2 separate regions of the Homo sapiens genome follow, and region 1 is linked to region 2. The links are contacts of gene promoters, found by promoter capture Hi-C in blood cells and fetal thymus (Javierre and others, 2016). All regions are on one chromosome and are shown on one strand. Each heading gives the region's core, a stretch centred on a gene start or on the middle of the fragment in contact. The rest is flanking DNA. Distances are from core to core; before and after follow the strand shown.

What was found. Contacts are between HindIII fragments. The CHiCAGO score rates a contact against its expected background, and 5 or more counts as called.
Region 1: a fragment that was not itself captured here is called in contact with the fragment with the promoter of UST-AS2 in region 2 in 1 of 17 cell types (megakaryocytes); the score reaches 5.2 in megakaryocytes.

Annotation. Positions count from the first base shown.
Region 1 is chr6:149,126,548-149,132,155 of GRCh38, reverse strand. No RefSeq gene overlaps it. Among named protein-coding and RNA genes, the nearest start is that of UST-AS2, 97 kb to the right of the region's middle. RefSeq lists a silencer at 2,477-2,536. The HindIII fragment of the contact is 5,450 bases long and covers 1-5,229 here.
Region 2 is chr6:149,030,828-149,036,753 of GRCh38, reverse strand. UST-AS2 (UST antisense RNA 2) reads left to right here and starts at 4,093. Exons shown (of 2, transcript NR_134599.1): 1 at 4,093-4,229. The region is part of intron 7 of UST (uronyl 2-sulfotransferase); the gene reads right to left. RefSeq lists an enhancer at 3,500-3,689. The HindIII fragment of the contact is 1,599 bases long and covers 3,700-5,298 here.

The DNA of each region.
Region 1 (5,608 bases), core at 1,255-3,754, 97 kb before region 2:
TTCATTGGAAGGAAGAGTGAAGAGAGAACCAAGGGAGCAGAGACTCAAGAAAGAGAACAGAGCCTCATACGTCACACTCCCAGGGAGTATAAGGAGTGTGTGGCCAACTCCTCCACCCGTAGCTGGGAAAGTTGGAATGATTCTAACCTCTTTGTGTGATAACTCCTCAAATTCTAGCACGGGGATAATAGAGGCTTGTTGTGAGAATTAGATAAAATAATGTATAAAAGCTGTTGGAATATTTTACTGGCTTTATAAATGTCAACTATTTTCATTAAAGTATATATAAGCTCTTGCTTTTCCTAGTATAAGCTCTTCTCCTATGGTGGCCCAATGGCATCCCTAATGATTTCACCATGCCCTGGTTCATGTCAGGGTTCCTCCCTTTTGGGATTCTCTGAGCTTCTTTTGTAGATAGAATGTGTGGCTTTTGGGGAAATAGAGGCATTGCAGGATCAGAGCATAAGTCCAGAAGGAATCTTGACAGTCTTCTAATTCCCACATTAGAAACTCATAGGATGGAGCCAGAACTGGGCTGGAGAGGATTTTCAGCATTCCTCTCCAGCCCAGCAGGTCAATGGGGACTTTGATAAAACCATAATGAAGATGATGAGGGGTGCAGGGTCTTCCTGCTTCCCTTTCATCCTCTCCAACTTCCCAGCTGCCCTTCCTTGTGGTACCCAGGGCCACCTTCAGTGTGTGGTCCAGGATGGATCCAGGCCTTTTCTCATGAGCTCAATAAACCTCATTCCCTGGGAGAAGCATCATGATTGGGCTTTAGGAGGTCATCTGATTCTGGTGATATTTACTGGTAGAAATGGCTGATATATGGGATCACTTGGCAGTATTTAATACCTTTTAAAAGAGAAGCCCATTAACCAAGATTATGGTAGAATGTGGTACATTTTTTAGCTTGGAGGGCCTTTCATTCTCCACCAATATTTCAGAAAATCAGGAGTTAGTAAATCAGTACTGTTGGCTGCTAGTCACTGATTCAGAGAGCCTTCTCCTCAGCCATATTGGGGTTTTATTAAAAAAAATATTCGGGAAGGAGATTGTCTACTTCATCACATAACTCTCCTTGACTGTTCAATGATCCTCACTATCAGGATGTTTTCTCTTGTATCTAAGCTAAATCCTGTCCGTGTTGTTTGATCCATTTTATTTCCTCTTGTCCTGCCCTTAGTGGAAACAGAAAACAGCTGGTGACTGTTTCTTGCATACAACAAAGGATTCTGGCTTCTAAGCCTATTCAATTAAAAGGAAACTCACTAAAGCAGCCACCCCCATTGCAGAGCTCTGGGGCCCCAACTCTAACTGCTGGGCTAGGGTCTTGCACTTCAGAAAACCAGAGGCACCACCATATACCAGTTTTATGTCCTTGCCGTGTGTGTGACAAATCCTGTGTTTAACTTGGGCGAGCTTCAGAAGGTTCTCGTTGTACCACATTCCAACTAAGAGCCTGCCACAGGAGGCCTGCATTTGAACTCTGTTGACGTTCTCCACAACCTTTCAGACTTCCCTAATGGAGCCGACAAAGTAGCTGCCACGGAGGACATGGATACTGTCACCATCGTGGAAACATAGTGTTTATCCACTTGGAAAAAAGGGGGAGTATGGAGAGTGTCAATACATAAAACTGCAGGGCCAATTCCCTGTGCACTCTTCTTTATACTATTCAGCAATTCATTTCATGGAGCAAGACTCCTTAGCCAGCTTGGTGAAAAAAAAAGGGGAGACATGTTTCATTTGTATTGAACTCAGGACTCTGACTTGAATGTGGTTAGAATACAAGTCTATGCCGAAAGGTTCTTGCAAATGCAGCAAAAACACTTCTGAAATAGGAATCAATGTTCAGGTTTTTCCCTGGCAAGTTTATCTTTGCTGTGTCATTCACTGCTTTTCAAGTAGGATCTAGGGACTGGTGTAGAGTTCCAGAAAGTAACTCATAATAATAAAAATGAACATTTAGTGAACACACATGCCAAGTATTTGATGCATATTAACTCCTAATTCTTTCAACAATGCTCTGAAGTAGGCACTGCTGCTATCCCCATGATATAGATAAAGAAACTGAGGCACAGAAAGATTAGGAACTTGCCCAAAGTATCTGTTATAGCAAGAGGTAGAGACATAACTTGAATCCAGGCAGTTTAGTTCCAGAGCCCAGACTCTCAGCCAAGCATGACATGACATCTGTGCCCAAAGCCATGAGTCAAATACGGCCACCGCTCTGAAAATTCCTGTTGCTCAATGATGAGTAGTTCGACACATCATTTTTTTTTTTACAGTGATAAAACAGATGTAGCATGTAGTCTTACGCAAACATGCAAAATCAAAGAATTTTTAGTATGCAGTGAATTGCTTCAAGCTGCACCTTGGTGTCCTGGGGCATGTACTTCACCTCCTCTGATGTCTGGGGTAGTACGCTGATGAAAAATGTAAGAGCTACAGTGGCGTTCCTTACCTCTTCCTCTTCTCAGTTCCCCTGCACTGAAGCCAGAGGTCAGAGGTCAGATGTTAGGTGCTGATAAGACAATCTCCTGTCATGTTTTTTTCGACCATTGCTCTACCTCCTTTTTTCTGGTATGGTCAAGGATAGGAAAGGGGTTGTGATGGTTAATACTGAGTGTCAACTTGATTGGATTGAAGGATACAAAGTATTGGTCCTGGGCATGTCTGTGAGAGTGTTGCTAAGAGATTAACGTTTGAGTCAGTGAGCTGGGGAAGGCAGATCAACCCTTAATCTTGTGGGCTCAATCTAATCAGCTGCCAGCGAATATAAAGCAGGAAGAAAAACGTGAAAAGGAGAGACGGGCCTAGCCTCCCAGCCTACATCTTTCTCCTGTGCTGGATGCTCCTTGCCCTCGAACATCGAACTCCAAGTTCTTCAGTTCTGGGACTCTGACTGGCTCTCCCTGTCAGCTTGCAGACAGCCTATTGTGGGACCTTGTGATCATGTAAGTTAATACTTAGTAAACTCCCCTTTATATCTATCTGTGTATCTACCTATGTATCTATGTATGTATGTGTCTATTATCTATCTATCTATCTATCTATCTATCTATCTATCTATCTATCTATCATCTATCTATCATCTATCTATCTGTCCTATAGGTTCTGTCCCTCTAGAGAACCCTGACTAATACAGAGGCAGAGCTGGGTCATGCCAGTGGCCTTATCACAGGGTGAGGAGGGAGCATTTCCTTAGATGCTGGGGCCCACATCCCAGAAGTAGGGTCTGTGTACCGTGGCTGCTCAGTCACTCTTTGTGTCCTTCCCGGGCTCCTGATGCCCCACCACTGGTGGGTTGCCCTCCCTCCCCAGTGCTCTGGGCAGGAAGAAATGGAGCTACTCTCCATGCTCATCTGCATCTCAGCTGTCTGTTGACGACACCACAAAACTGTCAAAAGATGAGGAGAGTCCTTTCTGGTCTTGATATGTGTTTGTGCCACACTTCACCACACTTCCTGCCTTTCTGGGAATCAGGAACACAGGGTTCAGCAAAGCGGGACCCTTATCAGCTCTTCCCCCATTGCCTGTTTACAAGAAGAAGCCAACACACAGCTGGAGGACCTCCTGTGGGTGGGGCTTGAACACCACCAAGAGCTGTGCTCCCTTTCTCACTCAAGGCTCAATTGCTGGTGAGCAGCAAGTTTGCGTTGGCAAAACAAATTCACTCTGCTGACCTTGTTTTACTCCTTTCTCTTCCCCATTGGATTATTACAAACAAAATGCTAAGAAAGACTGTGCTTATAAAATGCACCTGGATCACGAATAGTGTGCTGAACCAGAGTCTCATTTGAGAATTTTCTCCTTCTACTGTTTATATGACCTTTTTCTCTTTCATGTGTGTGTTTTTAATTAAACCTTTTATTTTTAAATAACCATAGATTCACATGCAGTTATAAAAAAATAAAGAGAGATCTCCTGTACCCTTTACCCAGTTTACCCCAATATTAACATTCTATAAAACAGTAGTACAGTATCACAACCAGGATATTGATATTGATATAGTCAACGTACAGAACAATTCCATCATTGCCAGGACCCCTCGTGTTGGTCTTTTATAGCCACATCTATTTCCCTCTCTTCTTAACCACTGCCACCCACTAATCTGTTCCCCATTTCTATAATTTTGTCATTTAAATAATGTTATGTATGGAATTAAATGTGGGATTAGCTTTTTTACTGAGCATAATTCTCTAGAGACTATGTGTATCAATAGCTAAATTCTTTTTATTACTGAGGAGTATTCCTTGGTAAGAATGTACCAAAGTTTGTTTAACCATTCACTCATTGAAAGACATCTAGGTTGGCTGGGTGTGGTGGCTCACATCTGTAATCCCAGCACTTTGGGAGGCTGAGGAGGGCGGATCACGAGGTCAGGAGTTAGAGACCATCCTGGTTAACACAGTGAAACCCCGTCTCTACTAAAAATACGAAAATTAGCCGGGTGTGGTGGTGGGTGCCTGTAGTCCCAGCTACTTGGGAGGTTGAGGCAGAAGAATGGCTTGAACTCAGGAGGCAGAGCTTGCAGTGAGTCGAGATAGCACCAGTGCACTCCAGTCTGGGCAACAGAGCAAGACTCCTTCCCCCACAAAAAAGAAAGACATCTAGGTTGTTTTTAGTTTTTGACTATTAGTAAGAAATCAGATATAAAAATTTGTGCTCAGGTATTGGTATGAATGTAAGTTTTATTTCTCTGGGATAAATGCCCAGGAATGTAATTGCTGAGTCATATGGTAGTTGCAAGTTTATTTTTTTAAGAAACTGCCAACTGTTTTACAAAGTGGCTATACCATTTTACATTCCCACCAGCAATGCATGAATGATGCAGTTTCTCTGCATCCTGGTTATCCTGATAGATTGTAGTAATATCTCATTGTGCTTTTAATTTACATTTCCCTGATAGCTAAAGATGTTGAATATCTTTTTGTTTAACTTCATTGTCATCTGAATACACTCTTCTGTGAAATGCCCCTTATGTCTTTTCCCCATTTTTCAACCAGGACTGTTGAGTTTTTTTACTGATAAGTTTTGAGAGTTCTTTATATATTCTAGATACTAATCCTTTGTTGGATATGTGGTTTGCAAATATTTACTCCCAATCTGTGGTTTGTCTCTTTAACCTCTTAACAGTGTTTTTTGCAAAACAAAAACTTTTAATTTTGATGAAGGCAAATTTATCAATTTTTCTTTTATGGATCATGATTATGGTATCAAGCTTAAGAAGTCTTTGCCTAGCTCTAAATCATGAAAATTTGATTATATTTCCCCCTAAACATCTTATAGTTTTACATTTAAGCCTGTGGCCCATTTTGAATTAATTTTTGGAGAAGGCGTGAGACAGAGGTCTAGGTTCATTTTTTTTGCCTGTGGATGTCCAATTGCTCTAACACCATTTATTGAAAATGACTCTTTACTCTGCTGGACTGCATGTTCATCATTGTCAAAAGTCGATTGGGCATATTTGTCTGAGTTGAGTTCTTCCTTTTTTTTTTTTCTGGAGATGGGGTTTCACAACGTTGCCAAGGTTGAAGTACAATGGCTATTCACAGGTGCAATCGTAGTGCACCCCACCCTCAAACTCCTGGCCTCAAGCGAT
Region 2 (5,926 bases), core at 2,844-5,343:
TAGTTTTGCTTTTGAAATTTTACCAGTACTATAATCCCAAGATACAGATGCTGAAGGCAGTGCTACGGTAGTTTGATTCACATCATGGCTACACAGATACTGCATAAAAGATATGTGTGTGACAGATCTAGCTAAGAACGGTAAACACAAAGCTGGCAGCAGAATCTTAAAGTTCAGGTAGTTAGAACATTCCCAGTTAAATGTAGTGGGCTGATTACATGCCTTCAATGCCTGTCCTTTGAAAAACTTCTCTAAAATGACAGTGAAGGAATGATAATTTTATTAAAGATGGCATTTTATTAAAAGATGGATAAAATGCTGGAGAAGGATTATCAGTGGAAGGCAGGCCTCCACCAATTTCTGGAAGATGAAATGCGGTTGGAGGCACGCATCCGATTAGGCAAAGCAGACGAAGAGAGTCTGAAGTGCTGACGAAAAGGGACATGGCTCGGGAGTGTCAGCTCACCCAGCTGAGAGTCAGAGATGGAGTACCACTGGGTGTCCCCGACGGGAGAGCTGGGTCTGAGGCTGGCAGTCTAGGTATGAAGCAGCTGGGACCCCAGTTCCCTCCACAGCCAGGGGCAGGCAATCTTAGGATCAGTCTCCAGATAGTTTGGGCAGAGGCTCCATACCGATTTGCTAACCCAGAGGAGTGGGAAGGAGAGGTATGGGCTAAAATCCCAGCACTGGGGAAACTGGTGCATTCAGTGAGAACCTTCAGCGCCTGTTCCCACACCAGCAACCAGTTGCATGCATGCTCCACTCTCCTACCACACTTCATCTCCCATCCCCAAAGCAGATGTTTGGATAATTTTTCCGTGGGAAAACTGGACAAACTCCAGAGAGAAAAAAACTACAATCACTAACAAATATTTTTCCAGCAAAACCTCTATTGCTATTTGATTATCCTCAAGCGAGGTCCACTGGTCAATGAGCCTCCTTCATTGCACAGCACTTACAATTAGCTTTTCTTCGCTTTTTTTTTTTAAAGATGGGGTCTTACTCTGTCACCCAGGCTGAAGCGCAGTGGCACAATCTTGGCTCACAGCAACCCTGCAACCTCTGCCTCTGGGGCTCAAGCGATCCTCCCACCTCAGCCTCTCAAATAGCTGGGACTATGACTGTACACCCCCACACCCAGCTAATTTTTGTATTTTTTTTTTGTAGAGACAGGTTTCACCATGTTGTCCAGGCTGGTCTTGAACTCCTGAGCTCAAGAGATCCACCCACCTTGGCTTCCCAAAGTGCTGGGATTCCAGGTGTGAGCCACCATGTCCGGCTGCAATTAGCTCTTTAGTGCCTCACTCTTAAAACGAAAGACAGACAAGTGTCACCAGAGGAAAGCCTTCAGACTGAAAAAGAGAGCCCAAACCAACCAAAACAGTACAAAGGAATCTGGAGCAAATAGAGATAAAGCGGGGAATAAATGAAAACGCTTAAACCAATGTCTATAATTTTTAGACTTTTAAGGTAATATTGCATCCATTCACTAACAAGAACAAGATGTTATATAAAAAGAAGAAAGAAAGGCTGAAAAAGAGAAGATTCAACAGAGTGGCTGGAATACAAATTGAGGAACTCTTCCAGAGAAAAAATGTTCAAAAGATGGCAATTGAGGGAGGAAAAAACAGCGAAGCGCATAGAAAGGATGAATCTAGAGGTTCAAGTATCTGACCACTAAAAGCATTCCAGAAAAGAAGCAGAACATGGTGGTAAAATCATCAAAGAAACAAAATGTTAAGAATTCCCAGAAATAGAAGACAGGAGTTTTAAGCCTGAAAGTATCCACTAAATATTTAGCACACATACCGAGTCATATTGTAAAATTTCATAAAAGGAATAAAGAGACAATCCAAGGAGAGAGAGAGAGAGAGAGAGAGAGAGAGAGAGAGAGAGAGAGAGAGAGAGAGAGAGAGAGAATGAGCATGAATATGAGAACCAAACTAGCCATCAAGTTAGAGTAGAATACTGAGCTTTTCAGACCTTCAATGACTCAAAAAAAATTTCCCTCCCATGCACCTTTCATGAGGAGGCAACTTAGGAACATCTTGAAGTAAAATGAGTTATTAAATCAAGAAATAGCATCCCCGAGATTAAGAAAACTGGACCCAACTGAGAAACATAGTAAAGGGAAGCTGCAGTAAAGCTGTGTTTAGAGTAATGAACCCAGATATACTAGGAGCAGGAGCTTTCTTGGTGGAAAGAGGAGAGGGCCTCTGGGGGAAGGGAGGGCAGGCTGGGATAGAGCTTAAAGAGCTCTGGGTGGAAAGAGGAGAGGGCCTCTGGGGGAAGGGAGGGCAGGCTGCGATGGAGCTTAAAGAGCTCTGGGTGGAAAGAGGAGAGGGCCTCTGCGGGAAGGGAGGGCAGGTTGGGATGGAACTGACATACTTATCTGGTAATTAATATTTAAATAATACCAAAAGTAATACTGAATGCGGCAGATCTAATGGCACATACGAAAATTTTGGCACATACGAAATTTTTGATAGGTACAAATAAATCTAGGCAAATAAATGAAGGCAATAAATAATTCCAGGAAAAACAATTAAGTTGTGCAAGAAATGAAACAAAATCATGATGTACTACTCTGATCAGCAGCCAACAAAATGTATATAGTCACAGCAACGTCAGCAGGACCATGCATCTCAAATGTGGGTATGACCATCTTAGGAAGATGGAGAGGAGCAAGGAAGTAGAAGTAAAGGTAATGGAATAAGAGAATGAGATCATGACCCCAGTAAATCAAGAAACAGCAGCCTGTGCATACTAGTTACAGATAGCGCGGTGATTATCCGAAGAAACATCTAGCTGCGCTGAAAGTGATTGGCTCTGCAACATCAGACTTCATCTTTGGGAGGGTTGGAATAGGAAACTGCTGGTTTTCATTATACATCTTATAGGACTATTTGATTTTTAATTATATACATGCATTACTTAATAGATATAGCAAAAAATGCAGGGAGGTAAAATCCTAGGAACACATGTTTTGAAAAACAGTTCTGGTAGAGTCTGGTTGACAATGCAGCAGAAGCATCTAGAAGCGTATGCTATGGTAAAGACGAGGGGCGGGGTGAGACCTTCAAGTCAAGTGAAACTACCCCACCTGACAAACAACCCTCTCTTCTTCTCATCAGTGTGGGATTATGTTGGATTTTTCTATGCGTTTGTAGGTAATGAAATGAACGTGCTTACTAGAACCCACAAGAAACCACACATAAAAATCCCCAGCAATGTTATATACACAGGTATATTTCTAGCTTTTTGCTGTATTCTTTCACAATTCTGTGCCATTTGCAAGATGTGAAAAGCTAGGACATTATGTATTGATAAAAATGTCTGAGACATGAAAAATATACAGACCAAGAAATATTTTTATTTGAAAAAGATTTAGCCAGACAAAAATAGAAGCTTCCATTATAAAATGTTGAGTCATGCAAAATGGGTAAGGATTGTACTTCGCCCCGGCAGGGGGTACATTTTATAAGCAAAGAATGTCAGAGAGCTAAGGCCACGAGCCAAGGGCCCAAAGACAGTTTTGAAATCCTTTGTCTAGTGCTCTTTCCACATCACCACATTAATTCCTGGGGTGGACAGGGACCTTGACAATTTAAGCATAAAAGAACAAACTGACCACAAGGTCGTTTTTATAAAGATCAACCATCAACCCCTGGGGTCAAGTTTCCAATCTTTGCTCAAGCTTTAGAAGCCTTTCAGCTTTGTGGCGTTATCAGGAAAGTCCAAAAATTGAAATTTGTGGTGACTAATTCCACCCCCTACAAATACTCAATGCAGAGCATATTACTGTCAGCTCAGCTAAAAACTGCTCAAAGTAGAAGTGATTAAATTCTAAAGTAGAAAAAAATTCACCTCCAAACACAGAAACACACTGGTACCTCCCCCGCACACCCAGATATTATTAGCCAGCTTTTTGCCTGGGGAAATGAATCATGAGACAGAAAACTGTACAACCCCCAAGTCTGACCACACTGAGTAACTGGGGTAGACACAGAGGGGGGCATCTGGGGCTCTCCCGAGGCCAAGGTTGGGACCCAGAAGAGATGAATTTCCCTGGGTGCACAGGGTGGGAGGGAGGTGGGGCTGGAAGAACTTGATCTGGAGGGATGATCCCGAAGGCTCCCAGTGAAGAAGGCCAGGAAGAGCAGAGGATGGTGCCAGGAGGATGATGTCGGGGGACACAGGCAGCTCATGCCTGGATCAGGCAGTGACTGGTAACAGAAGGAGAGTCCATGCTGGTGGGCCCAGGGGAACATAGGTGGTCAAGCAGGGCAGTACTTGGTGTCTGGGGATGCAGTGTGCGACCTCCTGTATTCGGTGCGAGGCACATGGGGCCAGCAGGAGCTGGTGTGAGCCCGGGTCTGAAGGGTGGTGGGATCTTAGTGGGGAAGACTGGGAAGACAGCAGGGAGGAAGAACTCAGGCTGGAGGAGGATGGGGGCCTGGGAGGATCCCTGCCACACTGTTAGGAAGCCAGGGAGCTTGGGTGGTGGTAGGATGGGAAGAGGGCAGGGAAACGGGGGGAGGGTGACACAGGCCCTCCGGCAGCAGCGGCTTGGCCACTGGCGCTGAGATTGGTATGAGTGACTCAGTGCCAGGTTGCGCCACAGAAAGCTGAGGCTGCGGATCCTTCTCCTGCCTCTGGTAGGGCCGTCTTAAAGGCAGGGTGAGTGAGCCTGGCTCCAAGAGGCTGGGTCCGCAGGCAGGGGCTGACGTGGGCTGGCCCAAGCCCCAGCTCTCCTCACTCTGAGTGCTTCTATGCTTTCTCACCTCCACGCTTCCAATCATGTTATTTTCCTCTTATTAAAATGCCTCCTTCCACGTCCACTTGGCAAACTCCTACGCACCCTTTAAGGCCGGGCACAAATGTCTCCACAGGGTTATGCGCCCCAGCCCTGTTAGTGACGGCCTTCCAGCTAGACAAGATTTTCATCTTTATACTGCCCTTCCCCAGGAAAGGGACATCACAGACACTCAGCTATTTATTTGCTGGAGGTGTTTGTTGAATTTTTCTGGTAGTTTCAGATTACACCTATTTAAATATTAGTTTTCAGAGAAGAGAAATATTTTTGTAAAGTTATTCCTAGAACATCAATGTCTGTGAAGGAAGTTCTATTTTCCTGTTAATCTTTCATAATAAAATTGGAAATGCTTTCTCCTGGAGGAGAGATGATCCCAACGCAAGAACAAATCAGTAAGCAAGAGTAAAACATGTTTTCCAATAAAACAAAGAGTAATAGTTGAAATAGGCCAAACGCACATATATTATGCTGCAATTTAAGCTTTCATAAAGTAAATTAAACAAGCCTAGAGGCTGAATTCTTGTGAATTGGTGATGTTTCTGTAAACTGAATGATGTTATCAGCCTGTGGTTATACAGTTCCCCTCAGAAAAATGTTCACTAAAAAAAATCACAAGTGTTTAGAAGTTAAAGGGGTTTACATTATGTGTTCATTTTTAATGAACTATTTGCCCAGTAGCTACAGCTGAACCAGTTATATGCCTTCAGCTTAGACTTTTTTTTTTTTTTTTTTGAGATGAGTCTTGCTCTGTGGCCCAGGCTAGAGTGCAATGGCTCGATCTCAGCTCACTGCAACCTCCACCTTCCGGGTTCAGGCAATTCTCCTGCCTCAGCCTCCTGAGTAGCTGGGATTACAGGCATGTGTTGCCATGCCTGGCTAATTTTTGTATTTTTAGTAGAGATGGGGTTTCACCATGTTGGCCAGGCTGGTCTCGAACTCCTGACCTTGTGATCCACCTGCCTTGGCTTAACAAAATGTTGAGATTACAGGCATGAGCCAGCATGCCCAGCCCAGCTTAGATTTTTAGACACTATCTTAAAGACCTTGCACTGCTATTCCCTACGTCCCCGCAACCCCCACTGGAAAGACGTCAGGTGTTGTCAAACAGAT